2 separate regions of the Homo sapiens genome follow, and region 2 is linked to region 1. The links are contacts of gene promoters, found by promoter capture Hi-C in blood cells and fetal thymus (Javierre and others, 2016). All regions are on one chromosome and are shown on one strand. The core of a region is centred on a gene start or on the middle of the fragment in contact, and the rest is flanking DNA. Distances in the headings are between cores, read along the strand shown.

Region 1 (4,229 bases), core at 679-3,178:
TTGTTGAACAAAGTCTACAGATCATGAATTTTAGGCAGATTTACAAATAAGGATAGCACATGCTCTGTAAATAGCAGCTGTTGCCACAAGCCAAAGGGCAATATTTACATGAATCCTGTGGCAAGGTCTGTTGACCAAGCATCGACCTTTCCAGCCAAATTCATATACTTGGTAGCACTTTCAGCCGCGTCATCTTGAAAAGGAAGGATTGCATTATACATGCATGGAAAATTGCCAACGTACAAATATGTTCTGCCCCCAAATAAATTTTTAAATTCTTTTTTTGGAACATGGAACACATGTCCCCACAAAAAAAAGGTGTTATAAAGGGATGTGTTTCCCAGATTTCCTCACAAAAGTGCATTTAACCCACGATGTAACTGAAATAATGTACACTGACAATGAGAAATACAGTGGAACAAAACTGACTTGAAAGCAGGGACACACCAATACACAACAAATATTTCTTGAGCTTTTCTCCTTTGCAGCCCCATGCAAGGAAAGAGGAATTCTATCTTTCAATAGCTGCAACATGGTGAAAAATAAATCCTCCACTGTTGCTGTCCTTAAGGGTCCTTCTCAAGACAGGGTATTTAGGGTGTCCATTGCCTCAAGTATTTATCATTTCTATGTGTTGGGAACATTTCATGTCCTCTCTTCTAGCTATTTCGAAATATACATTGCATTGTTTGTTCAGTAGAGTCACCCTACTCTACTTTGAACATTATAACTTATTCCTTCCATCTAACTGTATATTTGTACTCATTAACTGACCTCTCTTCATTGATCCGCCTCAACCCCACACACCCTTCCCAGACTTCTGGTACCTATCATTCTACTCTCTACCTCCATGAGATCAACTTTTTAGCTCCCACATATGAGTGAGAACATGTGTTATTTGTCTTTCTGTGCCTGGCTTATTTTGTGCAACATAATAAACATCAGTTTCATTTATGTTGCTGCAAATGACATTTCATTCTTTTTTATGGCTACATAGTATTCCATTGTGTATACAGACCACATTTTCCTTAACCATTCACCTGCTGATGGACACTGATTGATTCTGTATCACGAAATGATTTTATATCCATGATCATTCATATTATGTGTTGTATTATTACCAAATAATAATGGAGGTGCAAATAGAACCTGTGCCAAAAAATCACAGTAATTCATTTCAATTGCTAATATTGAGTGCCTACCACATGTTGCCCCAGGTTCGGTGGGTAACCTTGTCCCCTAGGAATTTAAAAATGCAGTGGTGAAGGTAAGAGAAGTGTTCCTGCACATTGGCTACCTGAGAGGTACCAGAGGTGAAAATAGAGCAAATATACGTAAAACTTGAGAGTCAGACTTTGCCTTGTAAGTGAATGTGTTTGCAGCTGCAATCAAGAGATTCAAGGAGTGCTTCTCTTTGTGCAGAATTTAGGAAGGTGGAAACAGCACCGCTAATCCTACCTCTTTAGGGATCCGGGAAAGGGCAGTCCCAGAGGGGTTCCGCGCTTTGCAAATGGTGAAAAAGACCTTCTACAGTACAGTTAGGAGCAGAGGAAAAGTTCTTTGTGCAAGAAGGGGAGAGCGCCCCGAGGTACAAAGAGCAGATTTAAGGGAAAGAGGATTCGTTCTGCACGCATCTGCGAGGGGAGCTCAGGCTCACTGTTGGGGGCGTGTGGGAAAGGAGATTTTCAGGGGGCCGCGAGTTGTGGGTTCCCGCCTCCACCCCTGTCCGCGCCCCACACTCAGGCAACAGTTGGTCGTGCGGGGCCGGCCCGGGCTCTGGGTGGGGAAGGGGAGTCTCGCGATCGTTGAGGGGGGGGGGGTGGAGGAAGGGGGGAGAGTGACGGGGGGAGGCCATGACGTAGGGTGGGTGGACGGAAGTGGGGCAGGGTTGAGGGTTATTTAAAGAAGGGGGGGCCTGAGCGAAGGGGTTGGAAGCGGAGTGATTCCCCACCCCTGCTCCATCTAGCTCTTTCCAGTGCAGCCACTGCCGCCGCCCAGGAGCCCTCGTCCCCTGCCTTGTCCCCCTACTCGTTCCCGCTCCCACGGCATGGAGCAGGACACTGCCGCAGTGGCAGCCACCGTGGCAGCCGCGGATGCGACCGCCACTATCGTGGTCATAGAGGACGAGCAGCCCGGGCCGTCCACCTCTCAGGAGGAGGGAGCGGCCGCCGCGGCCACCGAAGCCACCGCGGCCACGGAGAAGGGCGAGAAGAAGAAGGAGGTAAATAGGAAGGGGGTGTGTGTGTGGTGGACAAATCCTGTGCCTGGCCCCTCTGAGGGGCCCAAACCCTGACCTTTCGGCGCCGACAGGTACCCGCGGAGCTTTGCGGGGCTAGGGGCGGCGGGTGCGGGGGTCGGCGGCGGAACCGCCTGGCGTTCGCTCCCCTCCCCCTTTCCTTCTCGCCGCCTGGAGGACGGGGGCGGGGCTGGGCGCGGGCGGGAGCGGCGCGGGGTGGAGGGGTGCCCGCTCTCCCGGGGCCTGGGGGCTCGGGAGCCCCTCGACAGCCCCCGACCCCCTCCACCTTCCCGGAACTCGGGTAACGGGGTGGGGGATGGGGCTGTGCAGGAAAAAGCCTCCGCCTCTCCCTCTCCTCTCGCTCGCTCCCTCTCCCCCCGCCTTCCCGTCGGCCTCTGCCTGGGAAATCTGGGCCCTTCAATCCCACACTCGCGCTAAAGGGGTTTTGCTGGGGCTTTTTTTGTAATTTGAATTTCAAGGTGCTGGTGGTTGCTGGGTGGAGGGTGACAGGGAAGACATTTCTTTCTTTCATTGGCAATGTCGGTCTTTTGGATGGCAGGAAAAAAACCATCCCTTGTTCGTTTGAACCCCGCCTGCCGAGGTGGGGGTGTCACCCCGAGGAAAGGAGCTCTCTGCGTCGTACCCCCCCGCCCCCCCAAACTGAGGAACCGTGGACGCTGGCTTAGGAAAATTTCCAACATCTGCACCCTCACCCTCTTCTGCCCCGCCCCCGACGGTATAGGGTTTCACTCCAGGGCCACCCCAATGGTCCCTCAATCCGGCCCCAAGCTTTCCAGGCTTCCGCCTCCCTCTCCTAGTGGGCGCTGCTGGCTCCTGGACACACACAGGTTTTTTTTTTTTTTCTCCTTTAATTTTTAAAAAACTCAGCGTCGCCAAGATGAGCTGCTTCTAACGTAAGGGAACTGCTCTGACACATATTAAAGCCAATCCAGAAAATATGTATTATCTCCATAAGGCACATTTCGTGTGGCCCGAGACATGCAAATAAAACTATAAAACGTTGAAAAATTGACATAAAAATAGGATGGGGCATAAGCATTTTTGATGTATGATAAAATTGCATAACTAATGGTTTATGTGTGGATTTTTTCCTATTTACGAGTAGTCATATCGCAATTTTAAAAAGGTGGGTAATTATGCTTTAGAGATCTCAAGTGGCTTTGTCTGAATCATTATATGATACTATACGACCAAATGAAAAGCTTTTGAGGAAAATGAACACCTTTCGCCTTAAATGAGAAGAGTAATTTTAAATTTAGCAGTTGCTTCTGTGACATATTTTACTATTACAAGGTTGACTAAACAGAAGGACAATTGTAGTGCTAAATGAAAACCGTAGAAAACATACACATTGTAAGATCTACGCGGTACTTGGATTAGTAAGACAATATTGTTGGTTAAAAGTGGGTGTAATACCAAGCATCAATATAAATCAAATGTTGTGAAATTCGGAAATGTCTGTGTGCCTTTTATTCCCTGGACTGGGCAAATGTGAGTGCCAAACTGCCTTTTGTATGGCAGGAGAGGTTGTCGAATTTCCAGATTGTATAAATTTTTGAATTTTGTATAAAATTTTGTATTGTGAAAAAACGGGAGACCAATAAAAAAGCTATATAATATAAACACTGAGTTGATGCCTACATATTTGTCAACTCTTGCCTCATTAGAAATTGCCCTACCAGTACTTCATTTGTCCACCCAGGACAGGGAAATGAGGTGCTGTATGTCAGGAACTTCCTGGATATCCATTTTTATTTTTAATTTTTCCTTAAAAAATGAAATACATTACATACTACCTTGACACTTTAAATTGCATACTAAAAGTGCAGATTAACCTCTTCTTCATGGCCATCAGTTAGTGTACTTTGACAGTGACACAAAGGCACCTGAAATCCCGCAGGTTGTTCCCTCTCAATTAAGTAACCACCTACCAGACTCTTGCAGTGTTGTGTTGATTTTTAAAAATAATTTT
Region 2 (4,229 bases), core at 1,060-3,559, 690 kb before region 1:
GATTGGGATCCACTCGTATTTATGCCTCTATAATCAGTATAGAACTTTTCCAATTAAAATCTAATTATATACTTTTTATGTTTGATCCTTATATGGTAACTAATGCTTTTGAAACTCAAATACTAACACAAGGAGTACTTTTAAATAATAGATCACTTTGAATTGTCTGTGGTGGGAGATGGTAAAATTCTGGTTGTAAATTTATTTAGATTTTAGAATTAAGAGCAATTTCAGCTCCTAGGATTTGTGGTGGTGGAAGTTATTATATCTAATATTTTCTGTAAACAGAAAAAAGGAGTTCATCGTTGCCCAAAATGCAGACTACAATTTTTGACCAGCAAGGAGAAAGCTGAACATAAGGCGCAGCATCGTACATTTATAAAGCCTAAAGAACTAGAAGGATTGCCTCCTGGAGCAAAAGTGAGTTTGTGAGGGAGTTTTTGGTGGTTTTTTGCACATTCTATTAATTTTTTTATGTTTTTTTTTTTATTATGGATAGAAGGAATAAGATCTAGTGTTAGAAAGCTCACTAGGGCAACTATATTAACAATAATTTATTGTGTATTTCAAAATAACTAAAAGAGTGGAATTGGAATGTCCCTAACACAAATAAATGATAAATACTTGAGGTGATGGATACCCGTTACCCTGATTTGATCATTATGTATTGTATGCTTGTATCAAAATATCCCATGCACCCCAAAAGTGAGTTTTAAATATGCTGTATTTTTAACATTTTGTATGATAATAGAAACAAACTACTGCCTGGTTTTATCTATTGAATATAATATTAAAATTGACCTCTGATTGTTATTAAGACTTTAATTTTAGGTTTTATCATTCTTATGCTTGTAAAGAAAAACTTCTAACCATTGTTTTTTTTAGTTGATTGATGTGGTTTGTTGGAGGGATATTTCTAGTGCAACTAGATTGTAGACTAAGTTGGCAGGTCGTTTCAATGTTCTGTAGGCTGTTTTTGAGCTATTCCAGTTGTCAGTGTGTATGTCTTTTTCAGTTGCTAGACTATAAGATATTTAAGATCAGGAATTATATTTAATTTATCTTTGTGTCCCCAGCATCTGTCACAGTGCCTTGAATGCCATAGGTTTGTTGAAGTTAGTATTACTAATCTACTCTCAGAGAAGCAAGTTTTGCTCCTGGATAGCATAGCATTGCTGTTTTTCATGAGCAAGCACACATCAGACTACAAATTTCTTTCTCCTTCTTTGCCTTATATACATATGTTTTCGCTGACTTTTTTTTTTTTTTTTTTTTTTTTTTTGAGACAGAGTCTCACTCTATCCCTCAGGCTGGAGTGCAGTGGCGCGATCTCAGCTTACTGCAGCCTCCGCCTCCCGGGTTCAAGTGATTCTCGTGCCTCAGTCTCCCAAGTAGTTGGGATTACAAGCATGCAGCATGATGTCCAGCTAATTGTTTGTATTTTTAATAGAGACTGGGTTTCGCCAACATGGCCAGGCTGGTCTCAAACTCCTGGCCTCAAGTGATCTGCCCGCCTCGGCCTCCCAGAGTGTGGGGTTACAGGCATGAGCCACCACGCCTGGCCCTCTGACTTCTTTACATAAAGTTAGCTCTTGAATATTTTCTCCAGTAAAGAGATAGATAATCCAAGGTGAGATAATCCCTAAACATTTGTATTTCACTTTGAGTACATGCTTTTGAATGCGAGTATGTCTGCTATTTAAATTAACAAAATTAATATAAAACAATTATCTGAATATCTAGCATAAGATAAACCATCTGGCATCCTTCCCTGCAATCCATTTGTTCCATGTTGGTATTAGACATGCAGAATATTAATGTAGGCAGTACAATCCTCTCTCACATCTTCCCTTATTAATAAGATACCAATAGTAATGATAATATTGATAATAATGATACTATATGTCTTATAGCACTTTAGAATTAAGTGTTCGGTGTGCCTTTCCATACATTTTATTATTTAACCTATGTGGTGATCCAGTGATATAGACAAGGCAAGTATTATCCCCATATTAGAGATGAAGAGGCTCAGAGAGGCTAAATTCCTTACTCAAGGTCATGTAGCTAGGAAGAGGTAGTACTAAGATTCTTAAACTCAGGTCTTTTGACTTCTACTCTAGTGCTTTCAAAACATGTATTTTCTTTTTGCAAGCTAACAAGTTCTGCTTCAGTGCTTTTCTATACCACATATATTTCATAGGACTTCATAGAAGCTGTTCTTCAAGTACATGGGGGGAGTGTAATCAAATGATTAAAGAAAATGTTAGTGGATGACTTTTCTATTATTAACCAATAGATACAAACATTTTCTTTTTCCAAATAGTAAATGATAAATTTTATATGTTACCATTAAGGAAATTCTGAGCATTATTATAACCACCATGCTGTGTGATGAATTGATATAAGCTCACCATAACCTTGGAAGCAGAAATCATGCCCCCTGATCCCCCAGGAAGAGGTCACATTTACTGAAAATCTGTTTTATAGTTACCAGAGGGTAATGCAGGCCTTTCCAGAGTTATTATTTCAGACCTCTATATTACATTTTGACCTCTCTATTTGTGAAAGCCTTTTAGTTAGTTGGGTTTTTTTGTTTGTTTGTTTTTGAGACGGGGGTCTCACTCTGTCACCCAGGTTGGAGTGTAGTGGTGCCATCTTAGCTTACTGCAACCTCTGCCTCCGAGGCTCAAGCGATCCTCCCACCTCAGCCTCCCAAGTAGCTGGGACCACAGGCGGATGTCACCATGCCCAGCTAATTTTATTGCATTTTTGGTAGAGATGAGTTGCCCAGGCTGGTCTCAAACTCCTGAGCTCAGGCAGTCCACCCACCTTGGCCTCCCAAAGTGCTGGGGTTACAGGCATGAGCCACCACACCCAGCCCTTTTTAATTCTATCAAAGCATAAAATAGCTATGGAATGTGCTCTTTTGATATTTATCTAATTTTTACTCCTAATTATTCGTTAATATCTGTTAACATACAACTGTTATCAATATAAAACTAATATTACAACAGTAAGTAAATATCAAGATAAATTTCATTTAATCAGTATGACCATTTAGAATAAGTAGAAGGCTTATCTGATTGTAGTTTATACTTGCCATTTTCAAAATAATGATTTTAACTTTTTGTATTGCAGTGGTTTTTTGGTAACAGTGTTATTGAGATATAATTCATATATCACACAATTTACCCATTTACAGTGTACACAGTTCAGTGGTTTTTAGTATATTCAGATTTGGGCAAACATCACTACAATAAATTTTAAAACATTTTTATCACCCTCAAAAGAAACCTCATACCCTTTAGCATTCACTATTTCCCCTCCATTAGACCTGTGCAAACTTTAGTCTGCTTTTAGTGTCTATGGATTTTCCTATTCTGGACGTTTCATATAAATTGAGTCATACAATATGCCATCTTTAGGGACTGGTTTCTTTCGCTTAGCATAATGTTTTGTAGGTTCATTGATATTGTACCATGTTTCAGTACTTCATTCTTTTTTGTGGCTGAGTAATACTCCACTGTATAGATATTCTACATTTTATCCTTTCATCTATTGGTGGGCATATGGGTTGTTTCCTCTTTTTGGCTATAATGGTGCTGTAAAAATTCATGTACAGGTTTTTGTGTGAACGTATGTTTTCATTTCTCATGGGTATATACCTCTGAGTAGAATGGCTGAGTCAAATGGTAACTCTTACCTTTAATATTTTAAGAAACTGCCAAACTGTTTTTCTTTTTTTGTTCTTTTGTTTTGTTTTGTTTTTGAGACGGAGTCTTGCCGTGTTGCCCAGGCTGGAGTGCAGTGGTGCGATCTTGGCACACTGCAACCTCCGCCTCCTGGGTTCAAGCAATTTTCCTGCCTCAGCCTCCCGAGTAGCTGGGATTACAGGTACCTGCCACCATGCCTGGCTAATTTTTTGTATTTTTAAAAGAAATGGAGTTTCACCATGTTGGCCAGGCTGGTCTCAAACTCCTTACCTCAAGTGATCCGCCCACCTCGGCCTCCCAAAGTTCAGGGAGTACAGGCCTAAGCCACCACACCCAGCCTGCCAAACTGTTTTTCATTGTAACTACACTGTTGTGCATTCCCACCAGCAATGTATGAGGGTTCGCATTTCTCTATGTCCTAGCCAATACTTGTTATTGTCTGTTTATTATAGCCATTCTGGTTGGTGAAGGGACATCTCATTTGGGATTTCATTTGCATTTCCCTGGTGACTAATG

The links. The method cuts DNA at HindIII sites, captures the fragments that hold promoters and counts their contacts. A CHiCAGO score of 5 or more calls a contact.
Region 2: a contact is called between a fragment that was not itself captured here and the fragment with the promoter of SMARCA1 in region 1, in 1 of 17 cell types (monocytes). The highest score is 5.8, in monocytes.

Annotation. Positions count from the first base shown.
Region 1 is chrX:129,521,189-129,525,417 of GRCh38, reverse strand. SMARCA1 (SNF2 related chromatin remodeling ATPase 1) reads left to right here and starts at 1,928. Exons shown (of 25, transcript NM_001282874.2): 1 at 1,928-2,221. The coding sequence starts at 2,048. The HindIII fragment of the contact is 3,805 bases long and covers 1-3,027 here.
Region 2 is chrX:130,216,540-130,220,768 of GRCh38, reverse strand. ZNF280C (zinc finger protein 280C) reads left to right here. Exons shown (of 19, transcript NM_017666.5): 13 at 289-420. Among named protein-coding and RNA genes, the nearest start is that of RAB33A, 47 kb to the right of the region's middle. The HindIII fragment of the contact is 5,050 bases long and covers 1-4,229 here.